Regions from separate parts of the Homo sapiens genome. Here regions 2 and 3 are each linked to region 1. Evidence: promoter capture Hi-C in 16 types of primary human blood cells and fetal thymus (Javierre and others, 2016). All regions are on one chromosome and are shown on one strand. The core of a region is centred on a gene start or on the middle of the fragment in contact, and the rest is flanking DNA. Distances in the headings are between cores, read along the strand shown.

Evidence for each region. Contacts are between HindIII fragments. The CHiCAGO score rates a contact against its expected background, and 5 or more counts as called.
Region 2: a contact is called between the fragment with the promoter of ABCC3 here and a fragment that was not itself captured in region 1, in 1 of 17 cell types (M2 macrophages). The highest score is 5.1, in M2 macrophages.
Region 3: the fragment with the promoter of EPN3 here is called in contact with a fragment that was not itself captured in region 1 in 2 of 17 cell types (M2 macrophages and M0 macrophages); the score reaches 6.8 in M2 macrophages.

What each region holds. Positions count from the first base shown.
Region 1 is chr17:50,764,670-50,767,369 of GRCh38, reverse strand. ANKRD40CL (ANKRD40 C-terminal like) reads left to right here. Exons shown (of 4, transcript NM_001358683.3): 2 at 359-496. The coding sequence starts at 457. Among named protein-coding and RNA genes, the nearest start is that of ANKRD40CL, 1.5 kb to the left of the region's middle. RefSeq lists an enhancer at 1,293-1,382 and a silencer at 1,683-1,732. The HindIII fragment of the contact is 4,284 bases long and covers 1-2,700 here.
Region 2 is chr17:50,633,431-50,636,130 of GRCh38, reverse strand. It overlaps ABCC3 (ATP binding cassette subfamily C member 3), which reads right to left and starts at 1,250. Exons shown (of 31, transcript NM_003786.4): 1 at 1,150-1,250. The coding sequence starts at 1,194. RefSeq lists a silencer at 1,231-1,280. The HindIII fragment of the contact is 5,138 bases long and covers 1-2,700 here.
Region 3 is chr17:50,531,436-50,534,135 of GRCh38, reverse strand. It overlaps EPN3 (epsin 3), which reads right to left and starts at 1,401. Exons shown (of 10, transcript NM_017957.3): 1 at 1,151-1,401. It overlaps MYCBPAP (MYCBP associated protein), which reads right to left. Exons shown (of 19, transcript NM_032133.6): 19 at 2,635-2,700. RefSeq lists an enhancer at 1-535. The HindIII fragment of the contact is 5,271 bases long and covers 1,148-2,700 here.

The DNA.
Region 1 (2,700 bases), core at 73-2,572:
TTCAAACCGAGAAACAAAGTGTTTGGTTTTTCTTACCCCTGGTGTAGAAGCTACCAACCTTTTCCAAGAAAGAGGGCCTGGCCCCCTTCTCGGGTCTGGCTGGGTGCCTGCTGTGCCTCTCTGGCCTCCCCTCCGAAGGGCACCATTCCCTCGGGTGAGTACTACCGGCCTGCACCGTCTTCCAGTGGGGACAGCCTGAGAAGAGAGTCTGGAGCCTTACTTCAGTACCTTCCTTCACTGGCCTCACCCTGTGCAAATCATGCCACACGCTGCAGCCTCCTTTTCCCTATCTATAAAATAAAAATGACCCTGCTCTATCTCACTGGGCTGGCAAGAACACACTGTTGTTACCTTGCAGACAGATGTGCTGAGGCTGTAGAAAGTGCTTTTTATTTGGTTGGGAGCTTGTGCATAAATGCGAGAGGGGCTGCACATCTGACGGACTAGAGGTGACTCATGGCTGAACCGGAACAGGACATCGGGGAGAAGCCAGCAGGTGAGTCTGGGAGTCCTGTTCCCAACATGGTCCTCAAGGAGGATGGGACAGGGGGCTGGGGAAGGCTGGGACACAGGTGATGCTGTGGCCAGCAGTGCCCTGTGGCCTCCGCCACTCTGCCAGTGGGGTAGTGAAGAGCAGAGCAACTAGACCAAAGGTCCTTTCAGAAGGAAGCAAGTGTCTATAGCTATAATAAATAATAATAGCAGCCAGCAATTACTGGTGCTCACAACTGCTAGGAAGTTGTACCTTCTGTGTACTTTCTCATTGACTTCTTACAATCTGGTGAGGTAGGATTGTTAACCTCATTTTCAGATCAGAGAGGTTATGTAACTTGCCCAAGGTGTCAAAGCTACTAAGTGGCAGAGGAATTCAGACCCAAATCTGCCTGAGTGCAAAGGGCATGCTTTGTGACCTCTATGAGACTCTGGCCGTTCACAGAGCTGACACATTGACCACAGAATAAAATGCTTTCAAACGTAGTGGACAGGGCAGGGAAAGTTCTCGGGCTGTGTGTTGGGTGAGTTAGCAGTGAGGCAGGAAGGCCTCGTTTCAGGTCAGGTTCTGGTATCTCTATCAGGTATCGATATCAGGTCAGGTACTGGCAGGTGGGCTGGGGCCCAGCTGCTACAGGGGCTGCCTGAGAAGGAGCCACAGCCCTGAGCCACCTCCAGGGCCCAGAATTGAAAGGCAAAGAGAAGACTGCAGATCCCCGCTCACTAGGGGAGGGGACATTATTCCTGTCCTGGGAAGGGGCTGAGTTGGGCAGGAGCGTCTCATCTCCTTGGAGGCATCTGGCAGGGTGGCACAAACAGGGCTGACTTCATAAGTCTGTGATCAGTGCAGCTGCCCAGGGCCTTGCATTCAGAAAGGCCCTGGGCTTGGGGTTCAACATTCTGTGATTGTTGACTTGAAATGTGTCATAATTTTAGCCCTGAACTTGTTTTGTAAGTGGTGTCCGATGGGACAATGGAGCATGTGCCAGGGTTGGGAGTTGGAGCCTCAGCTCATACATATGGTCTCCACACCCAGACCAGCCCCACCACTGCTGTAACCCTCTGCCAGAGTCCCTCATTCCGCTGTCACCTTTGCCCAGGCAAAACAAGGATCAGAAGTTGAGGAGTGGCAGGCAGCCCTGGACACTCTCACCCACCCCCATCCAGCTAGTTGGTGCGTTCAAGTGGGGAGGTCGCAATACCCTGGGCGTCACCCATTTGCCCTGGGTTAGAGCAGCGGCTGTGAGAAGGGGAAATTGGCTTCCTCTTCATTTTCCTTTTGCACTCGGCTTTGCAAATTATGTAGTTGGCCCTGGTCACATCCATATCTGGCCATTTACCAACCTGAACAAACTACTTCCCCTTTCAGCCTCAATTTTCCTGTCTGAAAATGAAAATAATAATGTGCATACCCCACAGGATTCTTTTGGGGACAGTGAGGCTTTTCTCTTTTCCAGAATGCAAGTCTGATTATGACAGCTCTCTGCTAAAAACCAGAATGGCTTGGTGGTGTTTTAGGACAAAGACCAAAACCTTTCATCTAGACTAATGCTGCCCAATAGAAATGTAATGCAAGCCACATATGTAATTTAAAATTGCTAGTAGCCATGTTTTAAAAAGTAAAAACAGGTGAAACTAATTTTAATAATATACTTTGCCCGCTATATGCAAATCATTATGTCAACATATAAGTATGAAAATTTTTTATTGCCTCCAAAATCCAGGGTATATTTTACCTTATCGTGTATCTTATCTCATGTGACAAGAAGCTACATAATTGGACTAACTGGCCCCTGCCAGCCTGTCTGACACTCAGTCCCCCCATGCTCTCTGCCCTGCAGCCATGCTGAACTCTCCACAGGGCCCTGTGAAAAGCTCTTCACCTCCTCTGCCCTCTGGATCTAGTGAAGCCTATTCATCCTTCAGATGTCAGCTCAAATAATCAACCTTCATGGAGGCCTCCCTTGACCCCTAACATGCTTTCAAAGTACTGTGTATTTCACATTCATCATGCCCCGACAACTGTGATTTCCCATTTATTAATATCTGTCTCTTCTGCTGGCCTGCAAACTCCAGGAGCACAGAGACATCTTTGGGATTTTTGAACATGATTTCCCCAGGGCTTAGCCCAGTGCCTGGTGCAAAGCAGGCTTTCAACATGTTCAGTGGATATTGTAAGAAAGAAAGAAATACACAAAAGGCCTGGCA
Region 2 (2,700 bases), core at 1-2,500, 130 kb after region 1:
ATGACCACAGAGAAGCACCTTTAATCTGAGCTCCCTCTGTAAAACGGAGACCACATGATCACTTGCCTCATAGAGGCAAGTAAGTTTTGCAAGTTGGTAAGAAAGCTCCTAGGCTGTATGCACTTAGCTCACCTGAACTGTGCTGGAGGCTGGAGTCAGCAGGCTGAAGAGCAGCCTGTCTTAGAAAGAGATTTGGAGTGAGAGTCACCAAAGGCTTGATTTTCTTTTCTTATTTATTTATTTTTTTAGAGACAGGGTCTCACTCTTTCGCCCAGGCCACAGTGCAGTGGTGCGATCATAGCTCACAGTAATCTAAAACTCCTGGGCTGAAGTGATCCTCCCACCTCTGCCTCCCAAAGGGTGGGATTACAGGCGTGAACCACTGCACCTGGCCTGTAGCCTGTTTTTCTATCCCAGCTCTGCCTTCATTGAACTGGGTAACTTTGGGCAAGTCCCTTCCTCTCTCTGGGCCTCCCTTTCTCCATCTGTGAGAAGGGAGTTGGACTACAGGAATCCTGACACCCTGCACCTGTCTCCAGACTGGGGTCTGCTTCTCCCTTCTGAGTCCGGAGTGGTGGGGATGGCCTGCTCTCAGACCTCAGTCTTACCTAGAGAAAAGAAGGTGGCAGGAAACCTTCCTAAGAAGGGTGGGACACTGCACAGCCGGCCTCCCAAAACACCTGGTTGAGCAGGTGCTCTGGATGCCCTGGGGGCAATCCATGCCCAGGTGGGCAACCGAGTCCTAACCTGAGGCAGATGCTGAGGGAAGACCCTCCATCAGGAACCCGCGGCTGATTGCGAAACGCCCCTTCCGCACCCGACGGAGGGGCTGGGATGGAGCCGACTCACCCAGCCACGCACTGTGCCTTTGCGCCCCAGCCGCGCACTCTTCCTCACTTTCCCGGGCTCCCCAGTGCTGCAGCCGGGAAGGGCAGAGCAGGGCAGGTCCCCGACACCGCGTGGGACCCGGCTCCGGGCGGCGCAGCCAACCTCCCTCCCGAGCCCATCGCCCCCTCCCGGGCGCCCAGGCCGTCTCAGGGGCTCCGTCCCGGGATACCTGCCGGCCCCGCGGGAAGGCAGGCGGCGGGGACCGGGCGAAGCCGGCCGACCCTGGCCCCCGCGCAGTGACCCCGGAGCCCCGCGCCTTACCCAGAACTTGGAGCCGAGCTCCCCGGAACCGCACAGGGCGTCCATGGGGCCGAGGCGCGGCTGCAAGGAAGGCGAGCGCGGTCGGACCCAGCGGCGGGCAGAGCGGGCGCCGGAGCCGCCTCCGCCCTCCGCACCCCGCGCTCCGCCCGGACCCGCCCTGCCGAGCCCTACCCCAGTGCCTCTGGGTCCGGTCTCCCTGCCCCCGTCCCGCGGGTTGCGACAGCGCCTCCCTGGGAGGGACTTTGGGGCAGAGGTGGGGGGGCCCTTGGCACGGCGACAGCCCCTGCGAGCGGCCCCTGGGCCAAGCCAGGGGGATGTCTCTCTAAATACCGAGGCTAACAGTCCAGGAGTCGAGTCTATTTCCAAGGGGGAACTGGGATACACAGGCGCTCCCACTCCCGAACAAGTCCGTGGGGCCGATGAGTCATTGAGTAGGGGACGTAGGGAGAGGGATTTAACAATCTTTCCTAGTAAAAAAGGAATCTTTGAGAAGGTCACGTTCCTCTCCGGAGGTCAGTTTCCTCATCTGTAAAATGGGAAGGGCTTCTGTGCTCAATCAGGAAGCTGACCTCTTCCCCATCAGGTTCCAGAGACCACTGGCAGGCGCCACACGGGGAGCACACGGGGTGTGCTCCGCGGGTGTGTACCCGTGAGGCGGGGGTGGGGGCCGCAGCATCGTCCAGCGGGGGCCTCTTATGTCCTCTTAAACTGCTGCCCTCTTAGGCTCTGTGGCTCCCTGACCTTGCCACATCACCTCGGCACGTCTCTGGGCCTCTACTTTCACATCCGTAAAATAGAGACAATCATAGAAGAGAATCTTCCTCCCAGGGTTCTCTGAGGATTGAATGGAAAGGGTAGGCAAAGCGTATTTCCTGGCACACTTAGTGGGCACCCAACATGTGTGAATTCCCTCTGCTTCAGCCTGATCAGGGTTGGGGGGGGAAGGACAGGTGAAGCCCCAGGAGGAGCCCCACGTGAGTGTCCTCGTCCTCGTCCTCCTCCTAAGGCTGAAACTCTACATTCCTGATCTGTAAAATGGGCTTGTCAGTGCTCTCCTTCTCCTGCTTGCCTCAGCTCTCCTTCTCCCGGTATCCCCTCAGATGCGGGGATCCCTCCATCTCTCAATCCCGCTGTTGCCCTGTCTTCCTTAACACAATCCCAGACGCCAACTCAGCACCGCTTGTTGGGGCTCAGAAGGAATTCTCCCTGGCAAATCTTTCCCTGGCCCTTCTCTTCCCTGCCTTTGCCCACAGGTCTGTCCAGTTTCACCCCGGTGACCCCTTTTCTGGCCCTTGTTCTCAAGAGAAGGTGTTTCCTTCCTTGGCTGCTCAGCGGCAGGTGTGGGTGGGAGCCAGTAAGAGTGCAGAAGGGGCAAGCCACCTCCTATCTCTCTGGGCAGCCAGGAGGTCACTAGAAGGGAAGTCTCCTTGGCTATAGGCTATCAGAACCAAGATCTGGCTGGGCATGGGATAGGGGTGGGAGTGGAGAAGATTCCCCTTTCCCAGGCAGTCAGACCAGGGACTTCTACCCCTCCACTGGGCAAGTTCTTTC
Region 3 (2,700 bases), core at 152-2,651, 230 kb after region 1:
GCCCAAGCGCAGAGAAGGGAGGAGGAAAGGAAGAAGCCTGCCCAAGCGCAGAGAAGGGAGGAGGAAAGGAAGGAACGCGGGAACGCGGGAGGGAGCAGCTGGGAGCGCTGCCAGCAGTGTTACAAGCAAAGGGTTTTATCGAACACGATATGCCCAGAAATAAAAGGGAGTGTAACAGAAACCCAGCGGCCGATAAGGCGGTGGCGGTAGCAGCAGCAGCCCTGGGCAGCTGGGTATGGAATTACTGCAGTGACCTTGAGCCAGACCCTGTCAGGTGGAGGGAAGGGCACAGAGAGGGCAGGGCCTGAGAATTCAGAGATGACGAGAGGGCAGAGGAGGGAGGAAGCTGAGGGGATGGGAGCAGGGCCAGCAGGCGGTGGGATGGGCCACGGGGCACGGAGTATCAGCTCTCTCCTGCATACAGGGTCCCAAGGAGAACTGCGCAGTAGGGAGGGGCTGCTCTTCTCAGGGCCTGCAGGATGGGGGGATCTGGAGAGTTTCCCAAAAGTCAGGACCGAAAAATGCAGATCGCTCATCCCCAGCAAGGGTTTCGGAGAGATGGAGAGAACCCAGATCTGTCCAGTCACACGTGCATGAGTTTGCGTAAAGTCTGTGCACCCACCAGCCCAGCCCACACCCTCTTCCCGTCCTCTGCTAAGGTGGGCTCCAGCCCCTGCCTCCAAGTCAGATCCAGCCTGAGCAGTGGGGAATGACAGTGCCCTTCTTGATGCTGTAAGGGACAGGGGGTGAGCTTGAACTCTAAGCTTCTGGCCACTGTAATAGCTGCATCCCGGGAGCACAGAAGATGGGGGAGGGGGGACTGCCCTGAGGCTAGAGGTGTGCATGAGGGGCTGAAGAAGAGGAAACAGCAGAGATGTGCAGAAGGAGTCTGTGGGGAATGCCACCAAAGATGCTAAGATGCCACCAAAGATGCTAAGTCCCAGGATGGTTGGGGAGGGGGCCCTGAGTCCCTTTTTGGGGGCGGCAGGGAGGGAGGGGTGGCAGGAAAGAAGCCTTTAGGTCCTCTACAGCTCAGCCTTCTCCCTCGCACCTGGAAAAGAGACTAAGCCCCAGAACCACTGTTTGCTCCCCACCAACCCCCGCCTTCCATGCCGCCACTGCCAGGGAGGGGGCCAGGGAGGAAGCTTACCTCCAGTGCGGGCTCCCTCGGCCCCAGCCCCAGCCCGAGTAGCCTCTGCGGTGACCCTCCGACCTGTGCAGCAGCGGGACGGCACAGCCTCGGGAGCGTCTCCAGAGCCATCCACCATGGACCCTCGTCCCAGAGACCCACCTGCTCCCAGGAGGTGCAGACCCCTCAGAGGGGCAGCGGCAGGGTCCCTGGAATGGGTAGCAGCTCTTCCCGCGTGCGTTTGCCTCCTAGCCAGCGCCAGGCAGCACTCCGAGGAAAGTTGCTCAGCTGGCCCGGCAGGTCTGCCTCAGCAGTAACAGGACACAGGAGGAAGTGCAGGGCAGGTTAACCCCTTCCTGCTGGCCAGGCAAGTGGTGCATTGAGAGGTGGGGGGCCTGCCTGTTGGCCGCCCCCAGGAAGTGCACATCTGGAGCCAGTGCTGGCGACCTGATCCCCTCTGCTTTGAGTTAACCCTTCCCCTGCCTCTTCAACAGGAAAGGAGGGGGGCTCCAACACCCCCACCACACCCCTCCCCTTCCTCCTCTGGGCCGGGAGGACATTAAAGGAGAGGGCAGGGACATTCCCTGGGGCTGGCTCTTTGGTGGAGCCCCCGTCTTCTCGTCTTCTTGGGGAGGAGAGCATCAGGACTCCAGCACAGCCCCCTCCCTGCCTTTCCCACACGGAGTCAGATCCTTCTGTCCATCCTCCCCCTCCTGCATCTCAGCTGGAGGATGCCTGAGGCCCACTTAAGGATGCCCACCCACCCAAAAACCAAAGTTGTTCTTCAAACTCTGGGAGCCTGGAGTGCTCTTCACACAGGGAGCCCAGCCCCAAATGGTTATGACTGACAGAAGACAATGAGGGGCCTGAGTTTGAGCTGACAATACCTTTTTTTCTGAGAGCCATTTCTAGCCTGTTTCATGTTCCCCTGAGCAAGGGAGGTAGCATGAAGATCAGCAGCTGTTTTTAAGGCAGAAAGATGGCTCAAGGCCAGATAGTTTGAGATGAGGAGGGGGATAAGGCAGACTAGACCCCGAAATAACAAGGTGATGTGGCCTCTAGAGCTGAAGAGGTGTGGTGAGCATGATCTTCAGGGACTGAATTGGGGCCCTGGGACCCAGCTGAAGAGGGGAGATGGCAGGGAGCCAGGTCCCATGGGTCTAGTTCTACTCCTCATCTCACACTTTGTCATACTTGGTGATGACACTTCGGGAAGACCTGGCTCCAGGAAGCACGACCCTGAAAGTGTGGGCCAAGGAAGCCAGAGGCAGGGACTACCAGAGGTGACACACTGTCCTGTCACCTGACTCCTTGTCTTGCTACCAATCTGCTCCTCTGCTTGGCATCCCACACATCACTTCCCCAGCTATGTCTGTCTGTCCTCCTGCAGGAGGGCTCTGGCAGCTGGCAGGAGGGGATCTGAGGGCAGGTGGAACATGGGAGGACCTGGATCAGGAGCTGACCTAGCCAAGATCCATCATGCAAGACACAGAGGCACACGGAAGTAGTAGAAACTTGAAGGTTCTTTATTGATTTATTTATTAACCCGTTTTCCAGAAGGTTGCTTGGGC